6 separate regions of the Homo sapiens genome follow, and regions 2, 3, 4, 5 and 6 are each linked to region 1. The links are contacts of gene promoters, found by promoter capture Hi-C in blood cells and fetal thymus (Javierre and others, 2016). All regions are on one chromosome and are shown on one strand. Each heading gives the region's core, a stretch centred on a gene start or on the middle of the fragment in contact. The rest is flanking DNA. Distances are from core to core; before and after follow the strand shown. Region 1 holds the start of CYP2B6 (cytochrome P450 family 2 subfamily B member 6). Region 2 holds the start of TTC9B (tetratricopeptide repeat domain 9B). Region 3 holds the start of CEACAM5 (CEA cell adhesion molecule 5). Region 4 holds the start of CEACAM7 (CEA cell adhesion molecule 7). Region 5 holds the start of CEACAM4 (CEA cell adhesion molecule 4). Region 6 holds the start of HIPK4 (homeodomain interacting protein kinase 4).

Region 1 (2,872 bases), core at 235-2,734:
GGTGGATTGCTTGAGCCCAGGAGTTTAAGACCAGTCTGGGCAACATGGCAAAACCCTGTCTCTACAAAAAATACAAAAATTAGCTGGGCGTGGTGGCATGCACCTGTAGTTCCAGCTACTTGGGGGGCTGAGGCAGGAGGATCACTTGAGCCTTGGGAGGTCAAGGCTGCAGTGAGACGTGATCATGCCACAGCACTTCAGCCTGGCTGACAGAGTGAGGCCCTGTCTCAGAAAAAAAAAGAGTCTTAAATGCTCATATGCAGCCATTCTTTGTACATCCAGTGGGCTCATTACAGTGGGAACAACAAAAACATGAAGAAAAGGTAAAGAATCACTCAACTACGTTGACATTGTCCATTGTGAATTCCATACTGAGAGCAGACAAGTCCATTATGATGGTGACAGAAGTAATGTTGATGCCCAAGGTTTTGGTCAATCTCAAAATTTTGAGGCTGACCAAAAGGGGAGAATTGTTTAATTAAATTAAATTTGACCTAAAGCTCTCTCTGTAGAGTGAACTGCAACCTAACTTGGGAGTATATTCTTTTTTTTTTTTTTTTTTTTGAGAAGGAGTCTCACTCTGTCACCCAGGATGGAGTGCAGTGGTAAGATTTTGGCTCACTGCAACCTCTGCCTCCTGGATTCAAGTGATTCTCCTTCCTCAGCCTCCTGGGTAGCTGAGATTACAGGCACGCATCACTATGCCCAGCTAATATTTGTATTTTTAGTAGAGACAAGGTTTCACCATGTTGGCCAGGCTGGTCTCGAACTCCTGACCTCAGGTGATCCACCACCTCGGCCTCCAAAAGCACTGGGATTACAGGCATGAGCCACTGCACCTGGCCCAAATGAATATATTCTTGTGACAAGTAGCCAAGTGTTGGCTAATCAGAGCAGCTGGGCTTTCAGTCCACACAGGCTGCAAACTGCTCAGATTGTGACCAAGTAAGGCAAGCTGTGATCTGTGGCCAATCAGGCTGTTTCTGTATGTCACCTCCTTTTTCTGCCTGTAAATACCACTTGACCATACTGCCGTGTGGTGTCTTTCCTGGTTTAGGGAGCTGTCCAACTCATGAGTCACTTCTTTGCTCAAATAAACTCTGCTAAATTTAATTTGATGCTTTTCTCCTAATAATACCACCCATCATGCTTCACCATGCTCCGTACTCACCAACCATGCCCGTGCCACCCCTGACTCTGGAAGTCTGCCTCATTCTGTTTGGTGAAGCTTCCCCAAGTACCAAGGCAAGAAGCAGCTCACCCTCAGACCCCATTCGTCTGTGTCTTACCCTCAGAAAGGATTTGAGTAGGCCTCTTCTATCCATCTGCAGAAGGTTTCCCAAAAGGGGCAGAGGGCGGGGCCCTGGTGGGAGGCGGTCATGGGTGTTAGGGTGGCGCTGAACCAGGAGTAGCAAGAGTCCTGTGAGGAGTGCAAGGAAGAGGAGGACGCTGAGTTCCATGGTCCTGGTCTGACTGCCCTGCACCCTGCTGCAGCCTCCAACTGGGCCTTTTATCCTGACCCTGCCTCTGCACCCTGTTATAAAATTTCATCCATTCCCCACCTCCTTTTTCATCATCATCCAGGAGCATTAGCTTAGAAAAAGTTGTTAGGGAACCCAGACTTCCTGCTTGGGCAACCCAGTGACCTGATGCCTATCCCTTTACCCACTCTGTAGATATTGGCAGGGATACAGTGGTAGAGATATCAAAGTCCAGGTGAGCAAGTGAATGTGTGGGTGTGTGGGTTTGTGGGTATATGTATGTCTATTTTTGTAAGCATAGGTGAGCTTGCACTTTTTTACTTAGCTTTGTCTGTTTGTCTGTGCTTGCATGCATTTGTCCATGCCTGCTTGCATCCCTGTATGTGCTTATATGATTTTTACATGTAAAGGGGTGTTTGAATTTATGCAAATGTACTGGCGTATATTTCTGTGGTTGAATCTGGGGGTGCTTATGTGTGTATCCTTGCATGTGTATGAGCTTCCTTGTATTTATACAGTTTTATATACGAAAGTGCATTTACATTTGTGTGTTGTGGAGGTGGTGGTAGTGCATGTTCAAAACTGAGAGGCTGGCTGGGTGCGGTGGCTCACACCTGTAATCCCAGCACGTTGGGAAGCTGAGGGGGGCAGATCAATTGAGGTCAAGAGTTCGAGACCATCCTGGCCCACATGGCAAAACCCCATCTGTACTAAAAACACAAAAATTAACCGGGCGTGATGGTGGGTACTTTTAATCCCAGCTACTCGGGAGGCTGAGGCAAGAGAATCACTTGAACCTGGGAGGTGGAGGCTGCAGTGAGCCAAGATTACACCACTGCACTCCAGCCTGGGTGACACAGCAATACTCCATCTCAAAAAAAAAAAAAAAAAAAAAAAAAGGAGAAGCTGATGAAAATAAGGAATTATTCAATTCAATCAAATTTGGCCTACTGCCTTTGTAGCATAGCAAACTGTAACCTAGCAATACATGAACCAATTGTGTGTATCTGTGTGTGCTGGTGTATTTGTGCTGGTGTGTTGGTGGATCTCCTAGCCCCTCTCTTTGGAAGCCTGCAGATGCTGAGTCTATCTCCAGTGTCCCCTCCTTCATCCGCCCTTCTGTGACAGCCACAGGTGGAAGTGGTCGGAGAAACAGAAGGAGGAGCAAGAGATGCAGAACTGGTGAGTCTCAGAGGAAGAGGTGGTCAGTTGGAAGGAGACAGAAACTGAGACCTGGCAGGTACAGCGATCAGGTCCTCTTGGTTTCTGATCACTCTAACTAGTGCTAAGGAGTTTCTTCCCTGCCTCTGACTATCTTCACGGTGCAGGAAATTTCTCTGGCTCTCTCTCTGTCTGACTTTGTGTCTCTGTTTTCCCCCTGGAGACTCTTG
Region 2 (2,872 bases), core at 203-2,702, 770 kb after region 1:
CCAGGTCCCACAGCTAAGGAGGCGGCAAAGGAGGACTGAAGGGCAGTTGACTCATTCATCCTCGATTTTTTTCTTGAAAGCCTCCTGCATGCTTCCTTTCCTGGGGACTTGTTTGCCCTCTCACTTGTTTTCCCCCATAGACAGCCGAGCTGGATGAGGGCAAGAAGGAGATCTCTCTTGTTTTTAGAGTTATTCCCTCCTCCAGGAAGACTTTATCACCACCTCAGCCCAGGGCAGGTACCTCCCACATCCCAGCCCCGACCCCTCTGCCTGTGCCTCTTCCACCTCGGCCCCGACCCCTCTGCCTGTGCTTCCCAGGCTAGCCTGCTCAGGGCTGTCACTGTCTGGTCACTGGTCTGTCTTCCCACTGAACTGGGGCCCAGTGAGAGTAGGGTCTGAAGCTCACGCAGTGTCTGCTATGTCCCAGCATCATCCAGCACAGAGCTGGGCACAGAAAGGATGTCAGTGAATATTTGTTTCATAAATTAACAGATGAATCCCAAAGGTGGTATTATTTTTAATTCCTTTCCTTTCCTTTTTTCTCTTTCCTCTTTCCCCTTTCCCCTTTCCTTTCCTTTCCTTTCCTTTCCTTTCCTTTCCTTTCCTTTCCTTTCCTTTCCTTTCCTTTCCTTTTTTGAGACGGCATCTCCCTCTGTCACCCAGGCTGGAGTGCAGTGGCACAATCTCGGCTCACTGCAACCTCTGCCTCCCAGGTTCAAGTGATTCTCCTGCCTCAGTCTCCCGAGTAGCTGGGACTACAGGTGCACGCCACCACACCAGGCTAATTTTTGTGTATATATACAAAAATTTTGTATATATTGTATATTAGTAGAGACGGAGTTTTGCCATATTGGCCAGGCTGGTCTCAAACTTCTGACCTCAAGCGATCCATCCACCTCGACCTCCCAAAGTGCTGGGATTACAGGCGTGAGCCACCTCGACTGGCCCTAAAGGTGATATTATTGTGCCATGTTACTGATGAGGATACAGAGTTCCAGGTAGTTTAAGCGAGCTGTCTAAGTCATACCACTAGTGAGAAAGTAAGCAGGGATTTGAATTTGGGAAGCTTGGGTCCAAATCCTGTGTTCTCATTCGATATGCCAAATGGCCAGTGGGCTGAGAGCCAGCTTTCCGTGAGGCTGATGTCTTCCTGCTCTTTCCCCCAGGCTCGTCCTTTCCTTCTAGAAATCTTCGGGAGCTTTGGGCACCGGGGAGGAGAGCAGGCAGGAGGTTGGGGAGGGTAAGGGGAATGGGAACAATTCGGGGGGCGGGCTGGAGAACTAGGACTTGGTTAATTTGAGAGTGAGCATGGGGGAAGTCTCGAGGGGTTTCCCTAGACCCATAGGGGGCAGCCGGAGTCGGCTGCCGGAGGTGAGGGGGCGGAGAAAGGGTGGGGACCAGCCCCGCGGGGGGCGATGCGGTAGCTGCAGCGGCGGCGGCAGGAGTTTCCCACAATGCAGCGCGGCGCGCTGTCCCCGGTGCTGATGCTCAGCGCTGCCCCGGAGCCTCCGCCGCGCCCGCCTCCCGCCCTCTCCCCACCGGGCTCGGGCCCAGGCTCGGGCTCCCGCCATGGCTCGGCTCGTCCCGGTCCTACCCCAGAGCCGTCGGGGAGCCTGGGCGCGGCGCTCGACAGCAGCCTGCGTGCCGCCGTGGCGTTCAAGGCAGAGGGCCAGCGCTGCTATCGAGAGAAGAAGTTCCGGGAGGCCATCGGCAAGTACCACCGAGCGCTGCTGCAGCTGAAGGCGGCGCAGGGGGCCCGCCCTAGCGGCCTGCCCGCCCCCGCCCCCGGGCCCACCAGCAGCCCCGGGCCGGCGCGCCTCAGCGAGGAGCAGCGGCGCCTGGTGGAGAGCACGGAGGTGGAGTGTTACGACTCCCTCACGGGTACGCCGTCGGGGGGTGGGGGGATGGGGCACGAGGGGAGGGGGCAATCGGGAGAGCTTGGCGACTTGGGGGCCAGGGGCCCTGGGGCTGAAGGGTCCAGGGCTGTGGGCTTCTGGGGGAGCCTTCAGAGCTTGATCAAGGAAAGGGATTAGGGGTAGGGGATGACAGGGGTCTGTGGCTGGAGGGAGCTGGGATGCAGGAAATGGTCTTTGGGTCGGGTATTCAGGGCCTCGCTTCCCCTGAGTCATTCTTTCCACCCCCTGGCCGCACGTGGACCCAAGGTGAGGAAGTCTGCCCTGAGCCAGGCTCTCGAGGTCCCGGCCCTCGCCCCCGCGCGGGGCCTTAGTGCTCTTGCCCACCGACAGCTCTGGGTGGATCGCCCAGTGGCGCCTGTCCGTGTTTTGGCGCCCCCTAGCAGCGGCGCAGTTGCGCCTGTTTCGATAGGCGAGCGGATTGGCGCCCCTGGTTGCCGGAGCAATCCCTTAGGCCTGGTTCCCTGCCGCCTGGAGCCTCGGCTCCTCGCAGTCAGGTGGGTTCTGGGGGTGCCAGCAGGCTCTGAGAGTGCCGGCCGCGGGGCCCTCGCAGCTTGCCTGCTGCAGTCGGAGCTGGTAAACTACGAGCGCGTGCGCGAGTACTGTCTCAAGGTACTGGAGAAGCAGCAGGGCAACTTCAAGGCCACCTACCGTGCCGGCATTGCCTTCTACCACCTGGGCGACTACGCACGCGCGCTGCGCTACCTGCAGGAGGCCCGCAGCCGGGAACCCACAGGTGAGTGGCGGGGCGGGGCAGAGGTGAGGGCTGGGCCCAGGGCGGGGAAAGGGGCTGCAGCGGAGGGAACAGGCAGGAAGATCAGGGCAGAATAGCAGAGCCCTCCTCCCGCGGAGCTGCTTCTAGGTAGGGCTGCGCCACCCACCTACTCCCTACACGCCCACTCATCCATTCATCCACCCCGCCCTTCACCCGCCATTCAAACATCCGTCCACCTATCGCT
Region 3 (2,872 bases), core at 1-2,500, 720 kb before region 1:
TGAGTTCCTATTACATATCCTATAATTTGACGGTTGCCATCCACTCTTTCACCTTTGTACCAGCTGTAGCCAAAAAGATGCTGGGGCAGATTGTGGACAAGTAGAAGCACCTCCTTCCCCTCTGCGACATTGAACGGCGTGGATTCAATAGTGAGCTTGGCAGTGGTGGGCGGGTTCCAGAAGGTTAGAAGTGAGGCTAGGAGAGAGCAGAGAGCATCGGTCAATATTGGGACCTATGCATTAGGGTGGAAAAATGGGGTCCTGGGTCCTGAGCAGGTCTCTTCATCCCCCAGCCCTGGAGTGAGTGAGTGTGTGTGTGTGTGTGTGTGTGTGTGTGTCCTACTAGGTCAAGGTCAGCAGTGTGTCTCCTATTTCCTTAGCACCTCTGACCTTGGCATTTCCCTGTGTGGAATCTGCTTTTCCAGGGGTCTTCACGGCTCCCTCCCCATTGCCTTCAGGTCCTGCTCACATCAGGGCATTCTTGGGAGATCCCTTCCCTGACACCTCCTCTAGAGACCCTGGGTCTTCCTTTTCTGACCTTTCCCTGCTCTATTCCCTCCAGGGCTCTTGTCAACACCTGACCTCACATTCTAGATCTCTTTGTATGTCTGTCTTCCTCCCCATGAGAGCATGAGCTTCATGAGGGCAGGGATTTGTGTGATCTTGGTTGCACCCCAGTGCCTGGGACAGGCTGCAGATTCCTGTGGATGAGTTCATGAGGGTTCCCAGGGCCCTCCACAGCCTGGGGCTTATTTTCCAATGTCCGCGGTAGGCGGATGAGGACAGTGTTTCATGCCCTGGTTATGTTTTTATTTAAAGTGTCATCTGATGCAGTTATTATGATTTTTAAAAACGTAGTGGCCAGTGACAATTAACTAGGAAAATAGAACTCTTGAGGTTTTCCTGCCCCTTTCCAATTCCAGTTCAATTTGATTTTTCTGGTGTGACTCCTGTCCCTCTCTGATGTCCTCTTCCCTATTCAGGCTCCAACAGGAGCCCTCTGTCCGTCTCACAGCCCTGTCCTACCCAGGAGACCCCAGCTCCCTCCTCCCACCCTCTCCCAGGTTGTCCTCCCTTCACCTGTGAGCAGGAGCCTCTGCCAGGGGATGCACCATCTGTGGGGAGGGGCCGAGGGAGACTCCATGGTCTCTGCTGTCTGCTCTGTCCTCCTCTGTGGAGAAGAGCTTGAGTTCCAGGAACGTTTTGTCAAGGCTGCTGTGACTGTCTGGTCTGCTGTCCTTCCTCCCTCTGCCCTGAGTCTCTTCCTAGGGCAGGAGTACTTCTCAGCATCACGTGGGTCATGGGTGTGGTCTTTATTCAGGTGTCCTCTGTCCCCTCCCCTCTCATTTCTGCCTCTTTTGTCCCTCCTCTTTTTTCCCTTCTATTTTCAGTTCCTCAGACAAATCTTTTCGGCAAGGTGGATGGACCCCCATCCCCTGGGAGGACAACCTGTCTTCCCCAGTGCTGACCTCTGCTGTGTTCTGTCCTTGGGTCTGTCACACCAGGGGGATTATTTTCCTTTGTGACAGAGAAACCCAGCAGGGTCCCGGGTCTCCCCATGCTCTCCAGGGCTCTGGGAAGGTGGGATGATGCCCAACAGGAAGGTGACAGAGGTGGCTCTGGGGGCTAGAAAAAGGCTCACTGGGTGGTGGCTGGGGAGGGACCAGCCCTCTGTCTCCAGTACCACCAACCCCGCCACTGACCCAGGGATGGAGACCCAGGCCCAGAGGTCTCAGGAGTCCCCAGATCCTGCATGTGGAGGGGGAGGTGTCTTGTGTGTCCTGGAAAGAGAGGACTGTGGTGGAGGGAGGTGGGTGACTCTGGGCTCTGCTGTCCTTGGGGAAGGCTCCAGGGGGACCCTCCCTCTCCGTGTCTGTTGGCTGAGCTGCGGCTCAGGGCCTGTCCATGTTCTCCCTGACAGTCCTGGGTGGTCTCTGTCCTCTGCGAGGCTGACTGTCCTGTGATCACCCCACCTTCCCCATGGTGGTACCAGGAGGGAGTCTGGAGTTGCACAGGGACCCCTGGCAGAACAGGGTCCTCATAGGACCCAGAAAGGAACAGAGCAGGTATGTGGGAGAGATCAGAAGGGTCTGTTGGAGCAAGGGATGGAAACCAGGCTCCACCTCCACTTCCTTAGCAAAGCCAGGTTCCTGTCCAGGGGAATCCGTTTCCTGAGTGATGTCTGTGTGCAATGTCACCCCCTGGAGGGCAAGAGGAGACCTCCGGCCTTGTCTGGAACTGCCCTAGGGATGCTGACCAGGGTCGACGTGGTGTGAGCTGACCCTGAACTCTGGATTAGGCTGCAGGGTCAGGCCGGAGGATCTATTCCCTGCAGGCCTCTGTCCTCCCTTCTGAAGCTCTGGGGGTTGAGGCCTCATTCCTGGGGCAGCCGCGGGCACTTGCTGGCCTCCTCCCATGCTGGTGCCAGTGCCCCTGTGTCCACATGGAACAGACTCTGACTGCTGGGGGCCACACGGAGGTGATATGCTTCTTTTTAGAGATCTCCCACACATTTAACCAGTATTTATGGAGCATCTGTTCCGTGTCAGGCACTGGGCTGGGCCCTGGGATTCCACAGAGAGCAGGACAGACGTGGTCCCTGTCACAGAGTTTTCCTGTAACCGGGAGACAGGCGCTCAGTGAACTTCATGGGACTGAGGAGTTAATGGTAATGACAGGGCTGTGAGGTGACAGCATAGGGGGCGTCGGAGCCTGTGAGAGACTGAGCTGTCCTGGAGATCACAGGGAGCTGCCCTGGGAGACGCCCTTTCAGCTGAGCCCGGGGAAGGAGGGGGTGTAGGGGACAGGAGCTGCCTGCAGAGGGCAGCCGACAGGCCTCAAGTGGGCGGCCGACAAGCCTCAGGTGGGCGGC
Region 4 (2,872 bases), core at 183-2,682, 700 kb before region 1:
TCTCCAGGTTAAGTAGGCTGAGGAGGAGGAAAGGAGAGGGTGGTCTTGCTGTCTCAGAGATGGCAGAGGTAGAAGAGGTGGAGGGGAGGCAAGAGGAGGGGACACACTCAGTGCAACTTTTAATTTAAAACATCTGCATGTGGCTGGGCATGGCAGCTCATGCTTGTAATCTCAGCACTTTGGGAGGCTGAGGTGGGTGGATCATTTGAAGTCAGGAGTCTGAGACCAGCCTGGCCAACATGGTGAAACCCCGCCTCTACTAAAAATACAAAAATTAACCAGGCGTGGTGGCGGGTGCCTATAGTCCCAGCTACTTGGGAGGCTGAGGCAGGAGAATCACTTGAACCCGGGAGGTGGAGGTTGTAGTGAGCTGAGATCGTGCCACTGCACTCTAGCATGGGCAACAGAGTGAGACTCTGTCTCAGGAAAAAAAAAAAAGCAAAAAACAAACAAACAAAAAACAAAAAACAAAAATCAAACAAACAAACAAACAAACAAAAAAACATCGACATGTAAGTGGACCTGTGTGTTCAAATCTGTGTGTTCGAAGGTCAGCTGTAATTCCCCTGGACATGAACTTGGCCTTGCTAAGGTGGTGAAGGTGGAGCCTGGTTTCCATTCCTTGCTCCAACAGACCCTTCTTGTCTTTCACGCGTTCCTGCTGTGTCCCACCTCTTCCTTCCTGGGGCCTTTGAAGACCCCGCTCTGCCAGGGGTTTCTGTGCAGCTCCCCATTCCCTCCTGGCACCACCCATGGGGAAGGCGGGGTGACCACAGGACTGTCAGCCAGACAGAGGCTTCCAGGTCAGGTAGAACATGGAAAGGACCTGAGCCACAGCACATCCAAAAGACAGGGAGAGGGAGGGTTTCCTTGAAGCCTTCCCCAAGGACAGCAGAGCTCAGAGCCACACACCTCCCTCCACCACAGCTCTCTTCCCAGGACACACCAGACACCTCCCTCCACACCCAGGAGCTGTAGCTCCTCCTGAGACCCCTGGGCCTTGGTTTCTGTGCCTGGGTCACTGGAGACAGAGGGCTGGTCCCTCCCCAGTCATCCCCCAGTGAGCCCCTTTCTATCCCCCAGAGCCACCTCTGTCACCTTCCTGCTGGGCATCATCCCAGCAGAAACCCAAGGCCCAGCTGGGTTTCTCTGTCACAAGGGAAATAATCCCCCTGGTGTGACAGACCCAAGGCCAGAACACAGCATAGGTCAGCACTGGGAAAGGTTGGTTGTCCTCCCAGGGGACAGGGGTCCATCAGCCTTGCTACTCAAAGCTTTGTATCGGGAACTGAATATAGACAAAAGGGAAAGAGGAAGAGGGACAAAAGAGGCAGGAATGAGAGGGGAGGGGACAGAGGACTCCTGAGCAGAGACCCCACCCCTGGACCATGTGATCTTGGAAAGTGCTCCTGCCCTGGGAGGAGGCTCAGCACAGAGGTAGGAAGGACAGCAGAGCTGACAGTCACAGCAGCCCTGACAAGAGAGTTCCTGGAGCCCAAGCTCTTCTCCACAGAGGACAAGCAGGCAGCAGAGACCATGGGGTCCCCTTCAGCCTGTCCATACAGAGTGTGCATTCCCTGGCAGGGGCTCCTGCTCACAGGTGAGGGGAGGACTTCCTGGGAGTGGGTGGGAGGAGGGCCAGAGAGACTGGCTGGGGTCTCCTTGGGAGGACGGGGCTCTGAGAGGGGACAAAGGGCTTCTGTTGAAGTCCTTTGGGAGAGGACACCAGACAGGGACAGGAAACCAGAACAGGAAAATCACATTGGACTGGAATTGGAAAGGGTCAAGAAAATCTCACATGTTCTCTTTTCCTGGTTAATCATCACTAGCTGCTACATTTTGAAATATGATAATAATAACTATATCATGTGACGCTTCAAATAAAAACATAACCAGGGCATAAAACATTGTCCCTAGCCACCAACCTCAGGCATTGGAAAATAAACCCCAGGATGTGGAGGGAGGGCCCTGGGAACTCTCATGAACTCATCTACTGGAGCCTGCAGCCTGTTCCAGGCACTGGGGTGCAATCCAGTTCACACAAGTCCCTGCCCTCACAGAGCTCACGCTCTCATGCGGCAGAAGACAGACAGGCAAAGAGATCTAGAATGTGAAGCCAGGTGTTGACAAGAGCTCTAAAGGGAACAGAGCAGGGAAATGTCAGAAACGGAACACCCAGGGCTTCTAGAGAAGGTGTCAGGGAAGGGGTCTCCCAAGGATGCCCTGATGTAAGCAGGTCCAGCAGTATGGAGGGAGCCCTGCAGATCCCTGGGGAAGAGGATTCCGAACAGGGAAATGTAAGGTCAGAGGTGCTGATAGGGGACATGCTGCTGACATTGATCCAGTAGGACACACACACACACACACACACTTACTTCAAGATGGGGGTGGGTGAAGAGACCTGCTCAGGATCCAGGGCCCCATCTTTCCACCCCAATACATAGGTCCCAATATTGACTGATGTTCTCTCCCCCTCCTAGCCTCGCTTTTAACCTTCTGGAACCTGCCAAACAGTGCCCAGACCAATATTGATGTCGTGCCGTTCAATGTCGCAGAAGGGAAGGAGGTCCTTCTAGTAGTCCATAATGAGTCCCAGAATCTTTATGGCTACAACTGGTACAAAGGGGAAAGGGTGCATGCCAACTATCGAATTATAGGATATGTAAAAAATATAAGTCAAGAAAATGCCCCAGGGCCCGCACACAACGGTCGAGAGACAATATACCCCAATGGAACCCTGCTGATCCAGAACGTCACCCACAATGACGCAGGAATCTATACCCTACACGTTATAAAAGAAAATCTTGTGAATGAAGAAGTAACCAGACAATTCTACGTATTCTGTGAGTGATACCTCCATGACTTCTGGGTG
Region 5 (2,872 bases), core at 373-2,872, 640 kb before region 1:
TGGTCCCTGCAGACATTTCACCAGGGGATCCAGGGGAACTTCTCCTGCAGGAGGGGACAGGATAACCCAGGATCTGCCTTTGTTTCCATCTCAGAGGGACTGAGGGTCACGGGGCCTCCCCTGCTCTAATACAGGAACCAGGTATCCCTTGCAGCCTGCAGGTAGGAGCTGCCCCAGCTCCTGGGCCCTGTGGAGAGGCCTGGGGCAGGTGACAGACAGGGACACAGATGACCTGGAGGCGGAACTCCCAGTGTTGTGATGGAGGAACACAGAACACACCGAGGACCACCTCCCAGGCCAGTGCCCTCTCTCTAAACCCCCAGAGACACCTCCCTGGGCCCTTCTTTTGAAACCTTGGGGACGGATGGCTCTTTCTGAGGCAGCCCATCCGCCTGCAGGACAGTTCTCCCAAATCAGGACCAGGAGTGCTCTGGACAACTCTCGTCCTCTCCCTGAGCTCATCCTGCACTGCATGGAGTTGGACATCCTGGGGACCCACAGTGAACAGGACCAAGGATGACCTGACCCTGCAGTCTGGAGGTCAGAGCCCACCTCTGCCCAGGGGCCAGGGCCAACTCATACCACGTGGACCCTGGTCAGCATCCCTGGGGAAGCCCCTGACTTTTACCACAGGGTTCCTCTTGCTCTCCAGGGGCAACATTGCACGCAGACAACACAGGAAATGGATTCCCCTGGACAGGAATCTGGCTTTGCTAAGGAGGTGGAGGTGAAGCCTGGTTTCCATACTTTGCTCCAGCAGGCCCTTCCAGTCCCTCCCATGTGCCTGCTCTGTCTCTCCTGATCCTTCCTGGAGCCTCTGAGGATCCTGCTCTGCCAGGATTCTCTGCTCAGTTCTCCACTTTCTCCTGGTATCATGCATGGGGAAGGTACAGTGACAACAGGACAATCACCTTCACAGAGGACAGAGGCCACCCGGGATGGTAAGGGAGAACATGCACAGGCCCTAAGCCACAGCTCAGCCAACAGAAACGGAGAGGGAGGATCTCCCTGAATCCCTCCTCAAGGACAGCAGAACCCAGAGCCACCCACCTCCCTCCACCACAGTCCTCTCTTCCCAGGACATGCAGGACACCTCCCTCCACATCCAGGAGCTGGGGATCCTCCTGAGACCCCCAGGCCTGGATCTCTGTCCCTGGGTCAGAGGCAAGGCTGGTGACACTGGAGAGAGAGGACTGGTCCCCCCCGTAGTCGCCCCCCATTTTCTATCCCACAGAGCCACCTCTGTCACCTTCCTGCTGGGTATCATCTCACACTCCCTGAGTATTGGGGAGCATGAGGAGACCTGGGGGCCCAGCTGGGTCTCTGTGTCACAAAAGGAAACAGTTCCCCAAGTTTGGGAGACCCCAGAGTACCTCTGTTTGTGGTGACATTCCCAAAGGGTCAGTGCAGGGGTGACAAGTCACCCTCTCTGGGGACAGGGGACTCCACCAACCCTGCTTCTCAAAGTGTGGTTAGGAAACTGTAATGTACACAGAAGAGAAAGGGGAAGGAGGGACAAAAAAGGCAGAAATGAGAGGGGAGGGGCAGAGGGGTGACCTGGGAAGAGCCCCGCCTCTGCCCCTGGCCCTGGGAAGTGCTTCTGCCCGGGAGGAGGCTCAGCACAGAAGGAGGAAGGTCAGCAGCCCCGACAGCCGACAGTCACAGCAGCTCTGACAAGAGCGTTCCTGGAGCCCAGCTCCTCTCCACAGAGGACAAGCAGGCAGCAGAGACCATGGGCCCCCCCTCAGCCGCTCCCCGTGGAGGGCACAGGCCCTGGCAGGGGCTCCTGATCACAGGTGAGGGGAGGACTCTCTGGGAGTGGTGGGAAGAGGGAGCACAGAGACTGACTGGGGTCTCTTGGGTAGGAGGGGATAGAGGGCTTCTGGCTGGGGTCTCCTGGGGCTCTGAGAGGGGACTGAGGGCCTCTGTTGGAGGCTGGATAAGGGAGAGAACATCAGAGAGGGGCAGGGGTCACAACAGGAAAATCTCAGTGAACTGGAATTGGTAAAAGGCAGGAAAATCTCAAGTGTTCTCTCGTCCTGGTTAATCATCACTGGCCACTACATTTTGAAAAATGATAATAACTATACCAGATGACACTTCAAATAAAAACATAACCAGGGCATAAAACACTGCTCTTAGCCAACAACCTCAGACACTGGGAAATAAACCTCAGGACTTGGAGGCCCTGAGAATGCTCATGAACTCATCTACAGGAGTCTGCAGCCTGTGCCAGGCACTGGGGTGCAACCAAGATCACACAAGTCCCCGCCCTCACAGAGCTCACGCTCTCATGGGGAGGAAGACAAACACCTAAAGAGATCTAGAATGTGAGGTCAGGTGCTGACAAGAGCCCTGGAGGGAACAGAGCTGGGAAAGGTCAGAAAGGGAAGACCCAGGGTCTCTAGAGGAGGTGTCAGGGGAGGGGTCTCCCAAAAACACCCTGATGTGAGCAGGATCTGAGGGCAGTGGGGAGGGAGCCGTGCAGACCCCTGGGGAAGAAGATTCCACCAGGGAAATGCCAAGGTCCAAGCTGTTGAAGGAATGGGGGTCATGCTGCTGACCCAGGGACACACACACACACACACACACACACACACACACACACACACACACACACACACACACACACTCCAAGGCTGAGGGATGAGGAGACCTGCTGAGGACCCAGGGCCTTATCTTTCCATCCCACTCCATAGGTCCCAGTATTGACTGATGCTGTCTTCACCTCCTAGCCTCACTTTTAACCTTCTGGCACCCGCCCACCACTGTCCAGTTCACTATTGAAGCCCTGCCGTCCAGTGCTGCAGAGGGAAAGGATGTTCTTCTACTGGCCTGCAATATTTCAGAAACTATTCAAGCCTATTATTGG
Region 6 (2,872 bases), core at 124-2,623, 600 kb after region 1:
AGCAGTTCTCATACCTCAGCCTGCCGACCTCAGCCTCTTGAGTAGCTGGGACTACAGGCATGTGCTAACACACCCGGCTAATTTTGTATTTTTAGTAGAGACGGGGTTTCTCCATGTTGGTCAGGCTGGTCTCGAACTCCCGACCTCAGGTGATCCACCTGCCTCAGCCTCCCAAAGTGCTGGGATTACAGGCATGAGCCACCGAGCCCGGCCCGCTGTTAAATATTCTAATCTGGCTGGAGTGGTGGCTCATGTCTACAATCCCAGCACTTTGGAAGGTTGAGGCAGGAGGATCACTTGAGGCCAGGAGGATCACTTGAGACCAGCCTGGACAACATAGTGAGACCCCATTTCTACAAAAAATTAAAAAGATAAATAAAAATGAACACTTTTTTTTTTTTTTTGAGATGGAGTCTCGCTCTGTCACCCAGGCTGGAGTGCAGTGGTGCAATCTCGGCTCACTGCAACCTCCACCTCCCGGGTTCAAGCTATTCTTCTGCCTTAGCCTCCCGAGTAGCTGGGACTACAGGCGCCCTCCACTATGCCTGGCTAATTTTTAGTATTTTTAGTAGAGACAGAGTTTCACCGTGTTAGCCAGGATGGTCTCGATCTCCTGACCTTATGATCTGCCTTCCTTGGCCTCCCAAAGTGCTGGGATTACAGGCGTGACCCACCGCACCCAGCCAAAAATAAATACATTTTCTAATTTGGCCTCAACATCTCCCCCAAGCTGCTTCTTATCCATGTCCATTTCTCGGGGACTGCCCCTTCATCCCAGAGCCCTAGGCCCGTTCTTAGACAGCTCCCGCCTTTCCCTCAAACCGTCGGTCTCACGGCTGCTTCTCCTGGCCTTTTGAGTGTCTCATCCATTGGCCTCGCCCTCTCCTCCCCAACCTCTCCCATCTGTGCCCTGTCCTGGACTCTTTCCCTGGCTTGGGGCTTCCACTCTTACCCGCTCCAACCTATCCCTTTTCATACAGTAACTTTCTGACACTCATATCTGACCCTGCCCTCCCCTGCTCAAAGCCCTTCTGTGGCTCCCCAGTGCCCTCAGAACAGAATCCAAACTCCTTAGCCTGGCATTCAGGGCCTTTTACAACCTCACCCCACAGTAGCCACAGACTGGGACAGGAGTTTTCTGAACACAGACACACACACATCACATCTCCCAAGCTCAAGAAGCCCACCTTTCCTCACTCCTGCCTTATCCCCATTCCTGTATGCCCAAGGCCCACGATTAGACCCCCCTCTGTCAACACTTCACCTGTTTGGTCTTTGCAAGATTCCGCCACTGGGCGGGGGAGGGGGCCCAGCCTGGTACCCCACCCCCACTCCAGCCAGGGCTCAGGTCTCCAACAACAGAACCAGAGCCACTCAACAGCGCTGGAACCCATTCGGTGGGGCCTGGGGCCCCTCATCCCAAGCCAGGAGGGTTTCTGGGGAGGGGTGCAGCCCCTGGCAGACTGACAGTGTGGCCTGGGGGTTTGGGGGTGCCAGGGAAGCAGGGGCCAACCTCATAGGAGGAGACACGAGTGCGGTTCTCTTTCCCCCACTGGGGGGCCTGCTGTGTCAGCAGCCAGGCGGGAGGCCTGGGCGGCAGAGCCAGTGGTACAGGGGCCTGGGCAGGGCGGTGTCTGGCAGCAGCGGCACCATGTCCACCATCCAGTCGGAGACTGACTGCTACGACATCATCGAGGTCTTGGGCAAGGGGACCTTCGGGGAGGTAGCCAAGGGCTGGCGGCGGAGCACGGGCGAGATGGTGGCCATCAAGATCCTCAAGAATGACGCCTACCGCAACCGCATCATCAAGAACGAGCTGAAGCTGCTGCACTGCATGCGAGGCCTAGACCCTGAAGAGGCCCACGTCATCCGCTTCCTTGAGTTCTTCCATGACGCCCTCAAGTTCTACCTGGTCTTTGAGCTGCTGGAGCAAAACCTTTTCGAGTTCCAGAAGGAGAACAACTTCGCGCCCCTCCCCGCCCGCCACATCCGTACAGTCACCCTGCAGGTGCTCACAGCCCTGGCCCGGCTCAAGGAGCTGGCTATCATCCACGCTGATCTCAAGCCTGAGAACATCATGCTGGTGGACCAGACCCGCTGCCCCTTCAGGGTCAAGGTGAGTAGGGGTCGTCTAGGGTGGCTGCGTCCCTAGTTCCTTGTCTTTTTCCCAGCTTCTTCCAGCCCTAGATTTTTTTTTTAATTTTTTAAAATTATTATTATTATTATTTTTGAGACGGAGTTTCATTCTGTTACCCAGGCTTGAGTGCAGTGGCACAATCTCAGCTCACTGCAACTCCGCCTCCTGGGTTCAAGTGATTATCCTGCCTCAGCCTCCCGAGTTGCTGGGATTACAGGGATGCGCCACCACGCCCAGCTAATTTTTTTTTTGTACTTATCAGAGACGGGGTGATGATGGCATGATCTTGGTTCACTGCCTCCGCCTCCCGGGTTCAAGCGATTCTCCTGCCTCAGCCTCCTGAGTAGCTGGGAATACAGGTGCCCGCCACCCATGCCCGGCTAATTTTTGTATTTTTAGTAGAGATGGAGTTTCGCCATGTTGGCCAGGCTGGTCTCAAACTCCTGACCTTGTGATCCACCTGCCTCAGCCTCCCAAAGTGCTGGGATTACAGGCGTGAGCCACCACGCCCAGCCAATTTTTGTGTTTTTTGGTAGAAACAGGATTTCATCATGTTGCCCAGGCTGGTCTCAAAGTCCTGAGTTCAAGCAATCTGCCCACCTTGGCCTCAACAAAGTGCTGGAATTACAAGTGTGAGCCACCATGCCCAGTCCTCTGTCTGCTTTTGAGTTTGATACTGTCTGGATGCTTCTGAACCAGGGGCACCCTGAGGGCAAGGCTGGGGCTGACTTAATC

Evidence for each region. The method cuts DNA at HindIII sites, captures the fragments that hold promoters and counts their contacts. A CHiCAGO score of 5 or more calls a contact.
Region 2: a contact is called between the fragment with the promoter of TTC9B here and the fragment with the promoter of CYP2B6 in region 1, in 5 of 17 cell types (erythroblasts, total B cells, naive B cells and 2 more). The highest score is 7.3, in erythroblasts.
Region 3: the fragment with the promoter of CEACAM5 here is called in contact with the fragment with the promoter of CYP2B6 in region 1 in 13 of 17 cell types (activated CD4 T cells, naive CD8 T cells, monocytes and 10 more); the score reaches 12.6 in activated CD4 T cells.
Region 4: the fragment with the promoter of CEACAM7 here is called in contact with the fragment with the promoter of CYP2B6 in region 1 in 8 of 17 cell types (total B cells, neutrophils, activated CD4 T cells and 5 more); the score reaches 12.1 in total B cells.
Region 5: the fragment with the promoter of CEACAM4 here is called in contact with the fragment with the promoter of CYP2B6 in region 1 in 5 of 17 cell types (total B cells, naive B cells, activated CD4 T cells and 2 more); the score reaches 12.1 in total B cells.
Region 6: the fragment with the promoter of HIPK4 here is called in contact with the fragment with the promoter of CYP2B6 in region 1 in 6 of 17 cell types (naive B cells, neutrophils, total CD4 T cells and 3 more); the score reaches 9.0 in naive B cells.

Annotation. Positions count from the first base shown.
Region 1 is chr19:40,989,894-40,992,765 of GRCh38, reverse strand. It overlaps CYP2B6 (cytochrome P450 family 2 subfamily B member 6), which reads right to left and starts at 1,484. Exons shown (of 9, transcript NM_000767.5): 1 at 1,290-1,484. The coding sequence starts at 1,460. RefSeq lists a cis regulatory region at 1,719-1,742 and promoters at 1,479-2,872, 1,445-2,872. The HindIII fragment of the contact is 6,148 bases long and covers 1,231-2,872 here.
Region 2 is chr19:40,216,964-40,219,835 of GRCh38, reverse strand. It overlaps TTC9B (tetratricopeptide repeat domain 9B), which reads left to right and starts at 1,452. Exons shown (of 3, transcript NM_152479.6): 1 at 1,452-1,881; 2 at 2,467-2,649. The coding sequence starts at 1,455. RefSeq lists enhancers at 1-415, 1,994-2,584. The HindIII fragment of the contact is 9,686 bases long and covers 1,069-2,872 here.
Region 3 is chr19:41,707,004-41,709,875 of GRCh38, reverse strand. It overlaps CEACAM5 (CEA cell adhesion molecule 5), which reads right to left and starts at 1,250. Exons shown (of 10, transcript NM_004363.6): 1 at 1,081-1,250; 2 at 1-196. The coding sequence starts at 1,144. RefSeq lists a silencer at 2,860-2,872. The HindIII fragment of the contact is 18,236 bases long and covers 1-2,872 here.
Region 4 is chr19:41,686,830-41,689,701 of GRCh38, reverse strand. CEACAM7 (CEA cell adhesion molecule 7) reads left to right here and starts at 1,432. Exons shown (of 5, transcript NM_001291485.2): 1 at 1,432-1,600; 2 at 2,481-2,843. The coding sequence starts at 1,537. The HindIII fragment of the contact is 5,666 bases long and covers 1,277-2,872 here.
Region 5 is chr19:41,625,824-41,628,695 of GRCh38, reverse strand. CEACAM4 (CEA cell adhesion molecule 4) reads left to right here and starts at 1,622. Exons shown (of 7, transcript NM_001817.4): 1 at 1,622-1,796; 2 at 2,736-2,872. The coding sequence starts at 1,733. The HindIII fragment of the contact is 7,709 bases long and covers 1-2,872 here.
Region 6 is chr19:40,388,682-40,391,553 of GRCh38, reverse strand. HIPK4 (homeodomain interacting protein kinase 4) reads left to right here and starts at 1,373. Exons shown (of 4, transcript NM_144685.5): 1 at 1,373-2,116. The coding sequence starts at 1,652. RefSeq lists enhancers at 921-1,470, 1,471-2,020. The HindIII fragment of the contact is 16,517 bases long and covers 1-2,872 here.